Linked DNA regions of Homo sapiens: region 2 is linked to region 1. The links are contacts of gene promoters, found by promoter capture Hi-C in human tissues and cell types (Jung and others, 2019). All regions are on one chromosome and are shown on one strand. The core of a region is centred on a gene start or on the middle of the fragment in contact, and the rest is flanking DNA. Distances in the headings are between cores, read along the strand shown.

Region 1 (4,843 bases), core at 754-3,253:
CCCATTACTTAGGGTAACTATCACAGCAGTTTACAACCAAAGACATGTGATAGTCATGTCCAGCACCTTCAGCACGTTGAAGGGGAGTTAAAATGGGCCCAGAGTTAAGCAGCGGCAGATTATGGACATCTCTGTGAACCATGCTAAGGGCTTGGACTTTCCTCCTGAAGGATTTTGGGAGAGGCATGACCATGCAGACAGTACGCAGGATGCTGGGAAAGGAAAAGAGGAAAAGACTCAAGACCAGAGGTGCCTTGTGAGGGTTTGCAATTGTCCAGAGGGACAGGTGAGGGCCTGCTGTAGAGCTGCAATGAGACGGATTCAGGAGGAACTCAGTGGGCACAACTCCTAGGACCTAGTAAATGATTATGAGGGGTGGGGCATGGTGACCTGCAGGATCCTGGTGGGTGGGTGGTGGGGTCTGTGTCCCAAACGACTTAGGGAAAAGGATAGGGATCCTCTGGAAATATCTTAGATTGTGGGGAAAGGCATCAGGAAGAGATGGAAAGGCAGCAAGACAACCATGTGGTTGGGAGCTTAAGGAGTGTTTCAGACAGGTGACAGGTATTAGAAGGGCCTAATGAACTGGTGGTAGTAAAGCCTCCACCAGCCTGAATAAGATCTCTCTGAAAGAGCAGAGAAAGGGTACAGGATGGACTCCCACGCAGAGGGGAATGGAGCAAATAAAGAGCATCTCTCAGGAGACGTTTGAGCTAAGACCTGAAGGATGAGAGTCAGCCAGGTGTGCAAAGACCAGTGCGACAGGGAGGACGAATGGCCATGGGAGTGGGAGAAGTGAGGACAAAGTCCTGAGGCAAAATGGCACATATCAGCTGGCAGGAGAAAAAGCACAGAGGTCAGTGCACGTGCAGCATGGAGAGGAAGCAGGAGCCTGCAGGAGAAATCCCAGGCAAGCAGGGGCCAAATCAAGCCCCAAAGAGAAGGTGCGCTGTTTCCCATCAGACTCACCTTGGGGTTTTATTAGAGGGAGTAATTCTGTGCACACATCTCGGGTACCAAAGAAATTTGTTTTCATCGTCACTTCAGCTTGAATATGAAAGGGTGTGGGATCAGCAACTTTTAGGAGAGAAAGAGAACATAGTTAATACATTGTACCCATGGGGTAAAATTCTATACAATGATACTAAAAAAAAAAAAAAAAAAAAAAAAAAACTTAGTGCCCTCTGCCTAAAGTAAGTCTGTATCTGGTTACAGTATTGTGCCAATGTCAATCTCCTGGTTTGATCATGTTCTAGTATTTTTGTAAGATGGCACCATTGGGGGAAGGAGGATGAAGGGTGCACACACTGGATCTTGGCATAACCATTTTTTCTTTTTGCAATTTGTCGTTTATTTTAAAATCAGTTCAAAATCCATCCAGTTGCCTTAAAGCTCAATTCAGAAAAACTGCAGAAAACCTGAAAAAGATCCCCAAGAGTCCCAGCCAGGGAAACACAAAGTTCCCTTTGGCTGGAAAACTCTCACTTTCTCCAAGGTTTCTGCACTCCCTGCATCTCCTAGCTCCTCCCTCTCCTCCCTAGGGAGGCGTTATGGACCCCGCAGACGCCAGGAGCCCCAGTGCATCGGTTCTTCTTCGGGGAGGCCACGTCCCCTCCCCATACCCTTGAAGGCGATGCCCGCGTTGTTGACCAGCACGTCCAGGCCCCCGTACTCCTTGCGCAGGAAGTCGCGCAGGGCGCGGATGCTCTGCAGATCGTCGATGTCCAGCTGGTGGAAGCGCGGGCTCAGGCCCTCCGCCTGCAGCTGCTGTACGGCCGCCTGGCCCCGCGTCACGTCCCGCGCCGTGAGCACCACGTCCCCCGAGAACAGCCGGCACAGGTCGCGCACGATGGCCAAGCCGATGCCCTTGTTGCCTCCAGTCACCAGCGCTACATGGATGCCGGACGACATGGCTGAACGGGGCGCGCGGAACACCTGCGTGGAGAACAGACCTGGCTCAGGCCCGGGAGCCCCGCAGCGTGTTCCAGAGACTGCTCGAGTCTGGCGGTCGTGGGCGCGCACCCGTGGGTTACACGCCCGGCCGCTGAGCGCGCAGGCGCAGGCCCCGCCCTAGCGGGGCGGGGCTGAACCATCCCTACCCCTCCCCACCGGAACCTCGCCGGGGTGCGGAGCAGGCGGAGAGCCAGCTAGCCTGACTTTGCAGAACCCGCAGGCCGAAGACCGAGGCTGGTCTCTAGCTACTGGCTGTTGGCTGCCCACGTGGCAGTGAAGAACCATTCCTAGTGGCCATGTGCCTAGATCTGAACTCACTGCTTGCCCTTGGTTCTCTGAGGGGTTTTCTTCATATTCTCCCAGCTGTTCAATCATTCCTAGTTGTGTTTGAAGAAATAGTACATTTGCATGGTTTTTTTTTCTTTTTTTCCTGGTGTTCTAAAAAAAAAAATACTGCAGGAACTGCAGTCTTTGGAGCTAGAGTTGCAGAAGAAACTGGAAGGAAATAACAGGGCATCAAGTTTTTGTTGATTTTCCCCCTAAGTATATGAAAACAAAGCTACTGACTTAGCCAGATTTTCCAATAATGGTGGGAAACATTCACTAAATCTTTATAAGGTTACTTCTCTGGGCATTTGCAGGGCCATCAGTTTATCTGTGCATAGGTGTAGGGGGTTTCACAGCCCTATTTTACACGGACAATAACACTCTAGGATGTACCTTTTAATCCCCATCTTAAAATGAAGAAACAGGGATCCATCCTCAGAATTTATAACTTAGTTCAGTGGTGGGAAATTGTTAGAGAAATGCCAGGAGTTTGGTCTAGGTCTGGTGGTTCACAGCACAGAAAGCCAGTCACTGAGACCCCATTATTGTCAGGGAAGAAGGCATTATTTGGGTGCTACAGCCTAGGGGGGAGAGATCAGTCTCAAATCCATCTTCTCAACTGATTAAAATTAGGATATAGCAGGGAAGAAATGTAACTGCATGTGGGAAAATAGCAGGAGTTAGGGAGAGATGAAGAGGAGTGGGTCAACAGGCATCAGGCAATTGTTGCAGGTGAGGGGTCTGGTGTCTGATTTTCCAGATGTGGTGATCCGATAAGTTTCAGTTCCTTGGTGCTATCTGGGAGGACTGATGGCTAGTTCCCTGAGAAAGGAACTCAGATAAGACAAATGTAAATTTCTCAAGTTTTTAGACTGGGAGGGTCAATTTGTTTATTCAAAAGAGACCAGGCCTGGCGCGGTGGCTCACGCCTGTAATCTCAGCACTTTGGGAGGCTGAGGTGGGTGGATCATGAGGTCAGGAGTTCAAGACCAGCCTGGCCAAGATGGTGAAACCCCATCTCTACTAAAAAAAAAAAAAAAAAAAAAAAATACAAAAATTAGCTGGGTGTGGTGGCAGGCGCCTGTAATCCCAGCTACTTGGGAGGCTGAAGCAGAGAATTGCTTGCTTGAACCCCAGAGGCGGAGGTTGCAGCGAGCCGAGATCATGCCACTGCACTCCAGCCTGGGCAACAGAGTGACTCCCTCTCAAAAAAAAAAAAAAGGAAAAAAAAAGAGACCATAAACATCTGTCCTATGGGACAATTGCATGGTTTCAAAGTGAGTGTTCCTCCTTCCTACTTACAAGGGAATTGGGAATAAGGTCAAGTTTCATTTCTGTGCTGTCCCATAGGTTGCCACTATCACAGGTGGCCATTTAAACATAAATTCAAATTAAGCAAAATTTGTAATTCAGTTTTTTAGTTGCACTAGCCACATCTCCAGTGCTCAATATGTGCATGTGTTAGTGGTCACTGTATTGGGCAGTACAGATTTAGGATATTTCCATCCTTGCAGAAAGGTCTGTTGAACACCACTGCTTTAAATAGATTGCAATTACATTGCAATTTCAAGGTAGGTTTCCAATCAGTTGCTTTAAAACAAGTTAATAATCAAGGAAAGACCCTTGCTTTTTTTCAACTGAAATTTTTGTCGAGCTAATTATAGAGTCACATGCAGTTGTAAGAAATAATACAGAGATTCCTTACCCTTTACTCAGTTTCACTCAATAGTAACATATTGCAAAAGTATAGTACAACATCACAGTGAAGATATTGACAACAAAACAGTCCACCAATCATACTCAGATTTCCCCAGTTTGATGTGTACTTTGTGTATGTATTTAGTCCTATATAATTTTATCAAATGTTGGTTTGTGTATCCACCACTATAGTTAAATGAAAATGTTTCTATTAGCACAAAGAGCCCTCCTGTTGCACTTTTATCACCAAACATACCTCTCTGTTACTCCCCAAACCAACTCTAATTCATGGCAACCACTAATCTGTTCACCATTTCTACAAGTTTGTTGTTTCAAAAATGTTACATAGATGGAGTCATACAGTTTGTAGTATTTTGTTTTTGGTTTTTTTTTTTCCACTCAGGATAATTCAGAGCTCTGTTTTGGATTTTCTTTCCTATCCCAGTGTGTGCGTGTTGGGTCTGTCATTGGCTGGGTTCTCTCCACTGCACTAGCTACTGTCTTCTGTAGCTGGTGTGAGTTAGTGTTAGAGTGGATGGATTAAATTTATTAAGAGGGCCAGTCAGCAATAGCACATGGTGTACAGGGAACTTTGGACAGGGTGAGGGTCCTGCTGTTTCAAAAGGCAAATCCTATGAGGACTATGAATCATGAGTTTGAGTCTGATTTATTTTTTTAGGACTGGAACCAACATAAGAATTGACAGGTACATTAGGCAGGATGCTCCGGAAAATATATAAAATATATATTAACAAGAATTTACTGTATGATAAAGGTGGTTTAACAACTAGTGAGGGAAAGAATTATTCCAAAATTAGCACTGGGGAAAGGGCATAATGATTGGAAAGAAAAAAGATCCCTTACA
Region 2 (4,863 bases), core at 2,090-4,589, 53 kb before region 1:
TATGCTTGAGGTCACCATGGTGGCTGTCCCTTTGCTACCCTGGAATTGGTTTCTGGTCTCTATATTCAGAGTGACTCAGGGAAAAGCATACTGCTTATTGTAAACACTGCTGACTTGGAAGAAGAGATTCTCCTTGCAAATGTGGTAGGAACCAGTTTAAGTGTGATGTCTGGAAGGCTGGGCTCTGTGCCTGAAAGGAAATCTGCCACACCCTTGCTAAACTGGACAGAGAAGGGGCCATGGCAGGCTGGTGAAGCACCTGTGCTGGGAAATGTGGGTCCGAAGGCCCCAGTCCTCTCCTTGGGAGCTGGATCAGGGTTTATTTTAAAGCCCATTCTTACCTCTTAGCTTGGCAAAGTATTGCCAAGCCTGGGGAAAACCAGCCATTCATGTATATTTCTGGCGAGTGTAATGTACCTCCTCTTTGGAGGGCAATTTGGCTGTTGTCTATTGAAATTAAAAATATGCGTCTCTTCCTGGAAAGGGAATTGTTGGGGGAATTTATCCTACAGATACCCTCCCGTGTGTGTAATGATAGCCGGACCAGGATGTTCTTTAAAAGTGGTTCTCAGCCAGTTTGTTACAAAGGTCATGAATTATTCAGCAAGATGATAATGGTTTTATGTTTTTAAAAATGATAAATTGTAGCCTGTTGATCATCGTTAAAAATATTTGAATGCTATTTGTATGGCTTTCTCTGTGAACTTCAGTGATTATTTTGGACAGTTTGTGTTTGTAGAACTTGCTGCCAGACAGTGCCCCTTGTGGTTGAGTGGCTGCACTACATGGCATATGTATCAGTTTCCTGCGGTCACCATAACTAAACACCAAATACAGGTGCAGAGCTTCATTCTCTCATAGTTCTGGAAGCCAGAAGTCCGAGATCAAAATGTTGTCAGGACCATGCTCTCTCTCCAAGCGCTGGGAAAGAATCCTTCCCTGCCTCTTCCACTTGCTGGTGGTTGCTAGCAATCTTTGGCATTCCTTGTCTTGGGGCAGCATCACACCAATGTCTGCCTCTGTCTTCATATGGCTGCTGTCTCTGCTGAGCATCTGTGTATGTCTTCTCCTCTCCTGTTCCTTTTTTTTTTAATTTTTTTTCCTGAGACAGTCTCACTCTGTCGCCTAGGCTGGAGTGCAGTGGCATGATCTTGGCTCACTGCAACCTCCGTCTCCTGTGTTCAAGCGATTCTCAAGCCTCAGCCTCCCGAGTAGCCAGGATTACAGGCGCCTGCCACTACACCTAGCTAATTTGTGTATTTTTAGTAGAGACACGGTTTCACCATGTTGGCCAGGCTGGTCTCGAACTCCTGACCTCAAGTGATCCACCCGCCTCAGCCTCCCAAAGTGCTGGGATTACAGGCATAAGCCACCATGCCTGACCCTTCTCCTCTTCTTATAAGGACATTAGTCTTCCAGCATAATCTCATCTTAACTAATTACATCTGTAAAGACCCTATTACCAAAAGGGCACATTCTGAGATGGCAGGTGGACATGAATTTTGAGGGGACACTGCAGAACTAACCCACTATAGAATCTTTCTTTAATGTTTCTATTGATCCCTTTCAACTGGTCTAATATATTATTTAGCCTGAATTTTTTTTTTCTTTTTTGAGACAGTGTCTTGCTCTGTTGCCCAGGATGGAATGCAGTGGCATGATAATGGCTCACTGCAGCCTTGACCTCCCAGGCTCAAGCGATCCTTTGTAGCTGAGACTACAGGTCTGTGCCACCATGCCTGGACAATTTTTTATTTTTATATATGTTTTTAAGAGGTGGGGTCTTGCTATGTTGCCCAAGGTGGTCTTGAACTCCTGGGCTAGAGCAATCCTCCTACCTTGGCCTCCTAAAGTCCTGGAATTACAGGCATGAGCCCTTGCATCTGGATAGCCTGACTTGTTTATCATAAATTCTTTTTTGAGATGGAGTCTTGCTCTGTTGCCCAGGCTGGAGTACAGTGGCACGATCTCAGCTCACTGCAACCTCTGCTTCCTGAATTGCAGAAGAATTCTGCAATTCTCCTGTCTTAGCCTCCTGAGTAGCTAAGATTACAAGTGTGCACCACCACACCTGGCTAATTTTTGTATATATATATGTTTTTTAGTAGAGATGGGATTTCGCCATGTTGGCCAGGCTGGTCTCAAACTCCTGATCTCAGATGATCCTCCCACCCCGGCCTCCTAAAGTGCTGGAATTACAGGCATGAGCCACCGTGCCCGGCCTATCATAAATTCTTGCCTGCATGTCTTAGTCCATTTGTGCTGCTATAACAAAATACATGAGACTGGGTAATTTATAAACAATAGAAATTTACTTCTTGTGGTTCTGGAGACTAGAAAGTCCAAGGTCAAGGTTCTAGGAAGTCTAGTGAGGGCCTGGTCTGTGCTTCCAAGATGATGCCTTGTTGTTTTGCCCTCCAGAGGGGATGGACGCTTTGTCTTCACATGGTGGAAGGGCAAAAAGGAGGGAAGCAGCTCCCTTATATATCTTTTATAAGGTCATTAATCCCATTTGTGAGGACAGAGCCCTCATGACCCAATCACCTCCCCAAAAGCTCCACTTTCTAATACCATCATCTTGGTGATTAGGTTTCAACATATAAATTTTGGGAGGACACATAATTCAAACTATAGAAGCATATATAAAGCTTAGTTTCCTTTTGGTACAGTTTGCTCTTATATTTATTTTTCTACCATCATAGGAGTTTGCTATGGTTTGAATGCTTCTCCCCTCTGAAACTCATGATGAAACTTAATCCCAAATGTAACAATATTGACAGGTGGAGCCTGTACGAGGTGATTGGGTCATTAGTGCTCTGTCCTCACCAAAGGATTAATATATCATGGATTAATGGGTTAATGGATTAATGGGTTATCATGGGAATGGGTTAGTTATTTTAAAACTGAGTCTGTTATAAAAGCCACTTGGCATTCTCTTGTGTACTCCTTGCCATGTGACCCTGTACCACCTTGGAACTCTGCAGAGAGTCCCCACTAGCAAGAAGGCCCTCACCAGATGCAGCTCCTTGACCTTGAACTTCCAGCCTCCAGACCGTAAGAAATGAATGTATTTTCTTTACAATTTACCCAGTCTCAGGCATTCAGTTATAGCAACAGAAAAGGGACTAAGATAGCCATCTTTATTGTTTTTGTTATCTGGTATTGCGTGTCTCTAAAGAGAATATAACTGGATTGTTAACTATTTCCTACCCTCCTTTGTTAGTGGCTTCATATTTTTTTATTATTTATTTATTTATTTATTTATTTATTTATTTATTTATTTTTTTGAGACAGGCTCCCTCTGTTGGCCAGGCTGGAATGCAGTGGCGTGATCTCGGCTCACTGCAGCTTCAACCTCTTGGGTTCAAGCTTCCTGAGCAGTTGGGACTACAGGTGTGCACCACCAAGCCTGGCTAAATTTTTGGTAGACATGGGTTCTCACTGTGTTGCTCAGGCTGGTCTCAAATTCCTGGGCTCAAACGATCCTACCCACTACAGCCTCCCAAAGTGCTGAGATTATAGGCATGAGCCACTGTGCCCAGACTTTTAGTGGGTTTTTAAAAATAGAAAGCTAATATTCATGGAACTCTTGCTCAGAGTCAGGTGCTGGTCTCCACACTTTACACTGACCTATATGTTCCACTCTAACAAGAGACTCACCCCATATCATGAGCCAAGCATGGGGGGAGGACCTTCTTGAAAGCAGACACTAAAATGTCTTGGTAGCCACACTGATTTTCTTTTCCCTTCATAGCTGTCCTGTTGCTTTTAGTTCTGTATCACCGCCTTCAGTGTGCCCAGCTGTCCACACCCCGCTATCCAGGTTCAAGAGAAGATCCCGTTGCACTCATTTTCCAGGGCCATTACACTTTTTGGGAAATAATTTTTGTGCTGTTGTCAAACAACAGTTATCCTCTGTTATTTAGCAACCCTTGTTCCTTGAACATTTTCTTCTTTAAAAAATAGTTTTATTGAGATGTAATGTGAATTAAATCCCATTTAAAGTATACAATTCAATGATTGATAGTATGTTCACAGAATTATACAACCATTACCACTATTTTGGGACATTTTCATCACCCCTAAAACAAACCCCATAGCCATTAGCAGTCATTCCCCATTTCCTTCCATGCCTTCATCCCTAGGCAGCCACTAACCTGTTTTCCATTTATATAGACTTACCAATTCTAGACATTTCAGATAAATGAAACAGTAAGATGTGGCCCTTTGTGACTGACTTTCACGTAGTGGGTTTTTTTTTTTTTTTTCTTTTTTGAGACAAGGTCTCGCTCTGTTGCTCAGGCTGGAGCCCAGTGGTGCAATCATAGCTCACTGCAGTCTTGACCTCCCTGGGCTCAAGTGATCCTCCTACCTCAGTCTTCTGTGTACGTGGGACTACAGGGGTGCACCACCATGCCCTGCTCATTTTTTGTATTTTTTTGTAGACACAAGGTTGCACCATGTTAGCCAGGCTGGTTTCAAACTCCTGGGCTCCAGTGATCTGCCCACCTCAGCCTCCCAAAGTCCTGGGATTACAGACATGAGCGACCACAACCAGCCTCTCTTAGTATGTTTCAAGGTTCATCTGTGTTGTAGATCTTACTGGCTTTTAAAGTTAACATTTAGTAAGTTTGATTCTTGATAGGATTTATAATTAATTTTTAATCATAGAAATATTCTTAAAAATATTAATTGAACATAAAGTTGATACAATAAAGGTGTAGACTTTGTGGCTTCAGGAATCAGTTTTTTTCACAATTGACTCTACATGAATATAATATTTTGTTGCTTTTTCAGAATTTTAAGTAAAACTAATATTTCCATATTGTATTTCGCTCATCTATGCTTAATCTAAAAAGGTTG

The links. The method cuts DNA at HindIII sites, captures the fragments that hold promoters and counts their contacts. A contact is called where the count stands out against the background at its distance.
Region 2: a contact is called between a fragment that was not itself captured here and the fragment with the promoter of CBR1 in region 1, in 3 of the 25 tissues and cell types used here (dorsolateral prefrontal cortex, heart left ventricle and heart right ventricle).

The regions. Positions count from the first base shown.
Region 1 is chr21:36,067,184-36,072,026 of GRCh38, reverse strand. CBR1 (carbonyl reductase 1) reads right to left here and starts at 2,003. Exons shown (of 3, transcript NM_001757.4): 1 at 1,623-2,003; 2 at 970-1,077. The coding sequence starts at 1,911. It overlaps CBR1-AS1 (CBR1 antisense RNA 1), which reads left to right. Exons shown (of 4, transcript NR_040084.1): 4 at 1,542-2,385. RefSeq lists an enhancer at 1,698-1,947. The HindIII fragment of the contact is 9,879 bases long and covers 1-4,843 here.
Region 2 is chr21:36,121,612-36,126,474 of GRCh38, reverse strand. All of the region lies in intron 1 of CBR1-AS1 (CBR1 antisense RNA 1), which reads left to right. Among named protein-coding and RNA genes, the nearest start is that of CBR1-AS1, 2.6 kb to the left of the region's middle. The HindIII fragment of the contact is 4,381 bases long and covers 1,149-4,863 here.